3 separate regions of the Homo sapiens genome follow, and all the other regions are linked to region 3. The links are contacts of gene promoters, found by promoter capture Hi-C in blood cells and fetal thymus (Javierre and others, 2016). All regions are on one chromosome and are shown on one strand. Each heading gives the region's core, a stretch centred on a gene start or on the middle of the fragment in contact. The rest is flanking DNA. Distances are from core to core; before and after follow the strand shown.

Evidence for each region. The method cuts DNA at HindIII sites, captures the fragments that hold promoters and counts their contacts. A CHiCAGO score of 5 or more calls a contact.
Region 1: a contact is called between a fragment that was not itself captured here and the fragment with the promoter of C3orf20 in region 3, in 7 of 17 cell types (fetal thymus, naive CD8 T cells, megakaryocytes and 4 more). The highest score is 7.2, in fetal thymus.
Region 2: a fragment that was not itself captured here is called in contact with the fragment with the promoter of C3orf20 in region 3 in 1 of 17 cell types (neutrophils); the score reaches 5.4 in neutrophils.

Annotation. Positions count from the first base shown.
Region 1 is chr3:14,938,749-14,941,448 of GRCh38, reverse strand. No RefSeq gene overlaps it. Among named protein-coding and RNA genes, the nearest start is that of NR2C2, 7.5 kb to the left of the region's middle. The HindIII fragment of the contact is 5,767 bases long and covers 1-2,700 here.
Region 2 is chr3:14,207,316-14,210,015 of GRCh38, reverse strand. No RefSeq gene overlaps it. Among named protein-coding and RNA genes, the nearest start is that of LSM3, 30 kb to the right of the region's middle. RefSeq lists an enhancer at 1-422. The HindIII fragment of the contact is 1,831 bases long and covers 400-2,230 here.
Region 3 is chr3:14,673,772-14,676,471 of GRCh38, reverse strand. It overlaps C3orf20 (chromosome 3 open reading frame 20), which reads right to left and starts at 1,331. Exons shown (of 17, transcript NM_032137.5): 1 at 1,220-1,331. The HindIII fragment of the contact is 9,428 bases long and covers 1-2,700 here.

The DNA of each region.
Region 1 (2,700 bases), core at 147-2,646, 260 kb before region 3:
CATCCTGGCCTTCCAAGACACCTGTGCCTCCAGTTTGTGAGCCTCCAGGGGCAGAAGCCCTTTTGTGTCTTCACTGGCATCCCCGTCTGAAGCACTTTGGTGATTATTTTCTTGTGTCTGCATGTTATATCTTCCAAAAATGGGTTGACATTTTCTATACCTTGTGTCTCCTCTAGAACTATCCTTTGGGTTATATCTTTTTATTCACTTGCTGGCTTTAGTGAATTTGAAGAGGGAGCTAAGAAATGCATGTTTTCTAGTCATCTATTGCATAATTAATCACACCCAAACTCAATGGCCTAAAGACTAACAGTCACTTTTTTTTTTTTTAATGAAAATCTTTTAATTCTAGGGGAGTCAAGTTGTTCTCTCTTGGCATCCCTCATGGTCACATGGCTGGAGTCATCTGAAAGGTTCCCTTATATGTCTGTGATTAATACTTGCTGTCAGTGTGAACACCTACATGTGGCCACAAAGTAAGATTCAGGGTCACATTGAGTAGTACTGTAGCTGCATTTTTAAAAGAGCTAATTTTATGCCTATAATAACTTTCATAATTATATGTGTTAGAATAATCAAGTCTCATGCTTTAGGGCATAGCCAATTACTGTAGCCTTCAAGAAGTAAGTTATTTTCTCATGTATGCTGCTCACAACAGGATAGCTCCATTACACATTCATGAATTCTAGTGTGGCATCATTAAGGGCTGGTAAGTACAGGCCACTGGATTTGAAGGACCACAGACTTACTGGAGATGACAATTCTTGAACATCCTGGTCTCCTGCTTGTATCTGTTACTTAGTTCTAAGGAGCATAGGGCTTATTGACTACACTTTATCACAAGATAGATTTTTGGATACAGCTGTTGATGAACATACCGAAGATGAGATTTGAATATTGATGAGAACTTGAGGTCATTTAGGGCAGTTTACATTTGAGTGGGTAATCTTTATATATAAACAAGGGTAGTCATCACTGTTGAAAATGCTTTAGGGCCACTTGGCATGAAACGTTTTAAAGTTCTACAATAGAACTTTAAAGAACTCTCAGTTCCTGAAGGATTTTTATAATGTATAATTTACAAATACAGATAAATGGGGTTTTCTCTTAATTGCTACAGTATCCATTTCCGAATCAGAAGAATTTGTGTAAACTTTACCATGAATTTTATATCTTTTTCCAAAACCTTGTTAGTTTTGAAGCCAGCCAAAAAACAAAACTGGAAACGTCATTACATTTCCATCCATTTTGCAACCCATTCCCAGAGTTTGAAAAACATGGCTCCAAGCTAAAACAAAAAACAAAAACAAAAAAAAAAAACTTGTTTTCAGCTTGCTTCATACAGATTTTATTTTGTGCAAGCCTCTCTTTTGCTCTTGTGGAAGTGCTGCCTCTCTACACTGGCTCTATCACAACAGCAGCATGAAAGACCATCAAAATTAGAGAATGAGGCATGTCATTCTGCTGTCAACACAGAATGCCCCTTCCGGTATGACAGCTTCAAATGATCTGGACAAGGAAGATCCCAAGTTCATGTAGAGAATTTGTTCTGCAGAATCTCATGTGATCACTAGGATATTATGAGGGTGGTCATAGGGTCATCAAACTTCTCCAGAGGAAAGTTTTGTGGAAGGAGATGTTTAACCGGCTGGGTGCCATGTTGGTGTAGTGCTGTTTCTACCTCAGTTAGTTATACTGGTTTTCCTCCTCAAATATTACTGTGGGCGTGTATTTCTCCTGTAATGTTTGGCATACTGTCATAGTCTAAAAGGCTTCTTATAATCTTGTCTGATGATACCAGTGCCAGTTCTCATGCCTTATAACATTTTCAGATACTCTTGGGTCTCACTTTCTTAAGCTAAGGATCTGAATATTCACTGCAGATACACCTGTAAACTGCCACTTCTACCACAGACTCAGTCTGGTGACAAACCGAGATCACTGCCAATGACTGAACTAAGTTTTTATTCGTTATTCATGGTGGCTGAGCTACCACCTCCTCTATCTTCCCTCCTACCTCCCTCCATCCTGCCTGTGCACAGAATCTCCTGAGGTGCTTGTAGAAACTGAAGATGCCTGGATCCCACCCGAGACTACCTACCCAGAGGGAACCCCAGGAGGTGAGGTGTGGGCCACAGGAGGAGCCTTGAGGAAGTCCCCTCTAGCTCTCGTAGAGGAACAGCCAGAGAGCCAGAGGGGACTTCCTCAAGGCTTCTCCTGTGGCAGGGAGGAGCAGCTTTGGTAGAGTGGGGCACTACCAAGGATAGGGCAGCCTTGGTAGAGTGGCCTCATTCTGGTTGTAGCATGTTGCAAATTTGTGGTCTCTTGCCCCACACTGCTTTGACTTCACATGACCCACAGGCTCTGGAGTGTGCATTGCTTGCATTGCCTTATGTTTCTGAAAATAGTCCCCCCTCCCCGGGAGGCGCATCCCCCAGGACACAGAGGTGTTCTGTGAACATGCACATCCTCTTCTTGGAACTGTTGCAACAACGGTATGATGGCTGCCTTCCCAATACAAAACTTGTCAATTCACATAGCATACATGTTAACCATAATCTTCAGACTTGTCATATACAATACAGATTCTTAAGGGTTTGAGAATGTAGGTTGAGCATCCCCAATCCAAAAATTTAATCTGAAATCCTCCAAAATCTGAAACTTTTTGTGCACCTACATGACGCTCAAAGGAAATGCTTA
Region 2 (2,700 bases), core at 66-2,565, 470 kb after region 3:
CTCCGTGGTGGTGGGGCTGTGCCTCTGGTGCTCAGCACTGTCTTCTTAAGCGCCTAGCAGGTAACAGGCATTCGGCACGTTTCTGCTACATGAAGGAACAGAATAAGAGTACTCCTACCGCTGTTGCTGGATCATGGTGAGGATTAAATGAGAAACTGTAAATAAAAGCCTAGAGTGTTTTAGATGTGCATGACACAGTAGCTCTTCCATTGCCAGATGCCTTCCTTCAGTGTCAGCACGGGGAAAGAATCCAGATGTTGCACCAAATCCAGATGAAGCCCCTTGTTCTGCAGATGAGCAAACGGAGCCTCAGATCTGTAGATCTGTTCATTTGTGCATTCATTCATTTCACATAGAGGGGACTATCAAGACAGAAAGAGTCTCCATGCTTATGAAGCTTACCTTCTAGTGGGAGGAGACAGTAAATGAGTAGACAAATATATAAACAAGAATAGTGTCACATACTAACAAAGTGCTATGGTGAGCAAGAACACAGGGGAGTGTAATGGAGGAGGGCTGGGAATGGGGGGGTACACTGGTTGGGGGACTAGGTGTGGCCTCCCTGTAGAGGAGGCATAGGATGTAAAAGTGGACCTGAATGACCAGAGGGAGAGAGTCATACCAAACTCAGGAGCAAGAGTGTTCTAGAACACTGCCTTTTGGGTGTTTGCTCTCATTGGTCTCTTTTGCAGGAAGAGGGGACATGACTTTTATTTTGACATAATTTCAGACGTAGAGAAAAATTCCAAGCATAGTACAAGGAAATCTCGTCTTCTCAATCCACTAATTGTTTACGTTTTGCCTCATTCTCTGTCCTCTCTCTCTAAGTATACAATATACACATCACACACACACACACTTTTTGCAGAACTATTTGAGAGTGCACAGTGCGAACATACTGCCCTTTCACCCTATACTTCAGTGTGTACTTCCTAAGAATAAGAACATTCGCTTATATAACCACAGTCCATATCTAATCTACAATGCATAGTTAAATGGTATCAGTTGCTCCAACAATAACCTTTTTAAATTGCACATATTTTTCCAGGCCAAGGGTCACATATTACACTGAGTCCTCATGTTTCGTTAGTTTTCTTTAGTCTGGAACAGTTCCTTAGCCATGCTTTGTCTTTCTTGACCCTGACATTTTTTTAAAGAGTGCAGGCCAGTTATTCTGTGGGACGTCCTGTCATTTGGGTTTGCTGATATTTCCTGAGGATTACTTTCAGGTGACACCGTTGTGGCAGGAACACCACAGAAGTGATGTTGTGTCCCCCTCAGTGCATCACAGCAGGAGGCACGTGGCGCTGTTTGTCCCTACGTTGGGGACATTAACGTTGGTTGATTGGTTTAGGTGGTCTCCTCCGGGTTTCTCCACTAAAAAATTGCCTTTCCCCCCTTTTTAATGAATGAGTAATTTGTGGGGAGGCACTTTTAGAATGTAAGTGCTCTGATCCTCACTAGTTTTAGCATACTTCATCTTCTACAACTTATTAGTTGCCACTGTACTGTAAGGAAGAGATTTTCCTTCGCCCCATTTACTTTATTTATTTTTATTTTTATTTTTTTGACACAGTATCTTGCTCTGTCATCCAAGTTGGAGGGCAGTGGTGCAATCACAGTACCCTGCAGCCTTGACCTCCTGGACTCAAGGGATCCTCCCACCTCAGCCTCCTGAGTAGCTGGGACTACAAGCACACGACCAAGCCCAGCTAATTTTTTGATTTTTTTGTAGAGACACTATCACACTATGTTGCCCAGGCTGGTCTCAAACTCCTGGGCTCAAGTGATCCTCCAGCTTCAGTCTCCCAAAGTACTGGGATTTCAGGCGTGAGCCGCCATGCCTGGCCCTACCCATTTATTTATATAATCATATATTTATTTATATAACTATGAACTCATGGCTTTTTATTTTATTCACTAGGTTATAATCTACTGCTATCAGACCATCTCAGATTTGATCAATGAGAGCCCTTCAGACTGAGTTCTGTGTCTTTTTACACAGCCCCACCATTCTTCAGGTATTTCCTTGCCTTCCGGCACAATAAGATGTTTTGGGCTCATCTGGTATGTTCCCTGCCCCAGCCCTGGAATCAGCCCTTTCTCCAATAAGCCTGGTTCTTTTGGTGTTAAAAGATATTTAGAATCCAAGATCTGGGGGCTGGGTGGGCTCCTGCCACCAGGTGTGTTACCACTTCCAGGACCTCTCTGGGGACAGAGCTAGAAAGCTTCTTGAACTCTGATGTGCATATGCATGACTAGGAATATTGGTGAAGTGCAGATCCTCATTCATTGGGTCAGATCTGCCCACAGGGGTGCATTGGAGACTCTGCCTGTCTCACAAGCTTCCAGGGCGTGCAGATGATACCGGTCCACAAGGCTCATCTTGAGCACCAAGGATGTAGGACAGTGGTTCTCAAAAGTTGGTGTGCATGGGAGTCACCTGGAGGGCTTGGTAAGATACATATTCCTGGGCTCTACTTCCAAAGTTTCCAATTCAATAACCTTGGGCTAGGACCTGAGAATCTGCATTTCTAACAAGTTCCCAGGTGATGCTGTTCTTGCTGATCTGAGACCGCACCTTGGGAACCACAAGATCTAGGACACTGGTTCCTAAAAGTGACTACACATTGGAATTCTTGAGGAGGTTTTATTTCCGTTTTTGTTTTAAAAATGGATCTTTAAGGCCCCAGAGATAAT
Region 3 (2,700 bases), core at 82-2,581:
TTTTAGAAATGTTAAAGAAAGAAGAACCAAATGGTGTGTATACACTGATTACACATTCCATGGAAACCTGTGCAGATCATAAGTTGGACACAGAGATACAAAGCCTTTTCTTTTTAAGGAAAAGGTGATTATTTTTGGAAAAGCAATAAAACCTGGGTTCCCAGCAAAGACAGTGGCACAGTTACCAGACTCACTTGCAACCTGGGAGACCTGGGCTGGGAGCAAGGTCCACTCTTGTATTTTTTGATTTTCAAAAACCGTGAACAACTATGGCTGTGCATGGAGAGGCTGGTGTGGGGTGGGGTGCGGGGAGGTGCTCTGTTCAACCGCAGGGAATAATGACCAAAAAAAAAAAGGCGGGGGGGAGGGGGAAGGAATGCAGTACACCCCACAGAAAATGCTTAAAACCTGGCCAAACTGTTACTAAGCATGTGAGCTTTCAGACTTAGGGAGAATGTGGCAATTAGAAATGTAGTGGAGGGCCGGGTGCAGTGGCTCACACCCGTCATCCCAGCACTTTGGGAGGATGAGGCAGATAGATCATCTGAGGTCAGGAGCTCGAGACCAGCCTGGCCAACATGGGTGAAACCCCATTTCTACTAAAAATACAAAAATTAGCTGGACGTGGTGGTGCATGCCTGTAATCCCAGCTACTCGGGAGGCTGAGGCAGGAGAATCACTTGAACCCGGGGAGTGGAGGTTGCAGTGAGCCACTGCACTCCAGCCTAGGCAGCAGAGCGGGACTCCATCTCCAAAAATAAATAAATAAATAAATAAATAACAAAAACAAAAGAAATACAGTGGAGAAAGAAGCTGTTTCAATTGAGGGTGGAACAGATGCAATATTTCTGGCCACTCCTACCACTGGACAAACACACACTTACTATGAGTGACTATATAGATGCAGCCTGGGATTTACTAAGAAACACCATAACAGAACATCGATAGGCCAGGTGACAGCTTTTCACTACAACACCTTACTTCCTTTGAACATTTGGATTTTCTAGTTTTCCTAGACAATGACCTACACCCATCATATCATTCCTGGCCTCTCGCCCCCAGTACACACACTTTAAACATGAAGATAATGTCCACAGCCCACCGGGGCAAAACACCTCACTCAGCCAGCTAACAGGGGCAGGCAGGATGACTGCAGTAGTTTCATCTACTCTCATTTTTTCAGTGGGTCAATGAATTCCTTTCAGTGATCATCACTCACCTTAGCCATGTAGTTTTTTATAGGAACTGCTTGCCGAATAACCGACTTAGTTCAATTTACTGACTTAAAAGGACACAGTATGGCATGGGCTACTCCAGGTTGTGTTAACTGTAAAGACCAGTACCCATCCCCGTTCCAAATTCTAAACTCTACTACCTCATCTGCATGTCACAACAAGGTCAGCTGAAAACCTCCCTGTGGGCTGCACTTGAGCTTTCACAGGGAATAAACGACATCACAAGTCTGGCAAATGTATGGCTAAACGCAGCAGGAATCTCATGTATATGGATCTGAATGTTCTTTGGGAATTCTGCAGCAAATAAAATGATTTATTGAGCCAATTCAAACGAACTCTATCAAAACACACAAAGGCCTAGAGGAGAGATTACAATGAACGTAAATAATTCAAGGCAATTTTTGATCTAAAGCATTTTGCTTAGCTCTACAAAGGCATGAATGAGGTGTGGTCACGTTTTTGTATAGGAGGTTTTGCCACTACTTGCTCCCAAGTTAAACATGGCCACAGAGTATTGTGAATGTTTAATGTATGCCTGGGAAAAATTTATTGGCCAATACTTTAGTTACTAATGGGAGGATTATGTATAGTCGGACCATAAAGCGTGTAAAAGCAGATCACTTAGAGCCGCTCTGTCCAGGACAGCAGCACTAGATGCATGGGCCCTTTGAGCACCTGAAATAAGGTTAGCATGACTAAGGAACTGGGTTTTATTTTTTCAAACTTGATGTTCAATTCAGTTACTGAAAAACTTTACTATGTTTAACTATCTTTGGAACAACTTGGATATGAATTTGTGTTTTTCAACTGCATATTTTACAAAATCTAAATACAGATCAAGTATTCCTGATGAAACGTTAGCATCCAAATTATGCTATAACCAGATACACAGTGAGTTTTGAATTCTTAGTGTGAAGAATAATTTTAGATCTCACTAATAATTTGCATATATTGAGTACATATTGAAATATTTTGGATATGCTGAGTTAAATAAAATATGTTATAATTTCACTTTTTAAATATGGTTGCTAGAAAATTGAAAATGACACTCTGGGCTTATTTTTTTTTTTTTAATTTTGAGACGGAGTTTCACTCGTTGCCCAGGCTGAAGTGCAATGGCGCAATCTCAGCTCACGGCAACCTCCACCTCCCAGGCTCCAGCGATTCTCCTGCCTCAGCCTCCCAAGTAGCTGGGATTACAGGCATGCGCCACAGATTTATTTTTTATTTCTGTTGGAGTGTGCTGTTTTAAGAGTATGGAGCTGACATTTAAGAATTCTAATGCCATCTGCTGGATACACTGGTACAAGACAGGCCCGTGTCACAGTAAGACTGTGATGGTGTGTCAATACTCAAAGAACTGGATCTGAAACAGAAAAGGGCTCACAAAACACTGAACTAAATTATACTGTTAAGAGGGGATTATAAATAGGTTTATTTAGTTTTTGAAATCCCAGAGAAAATG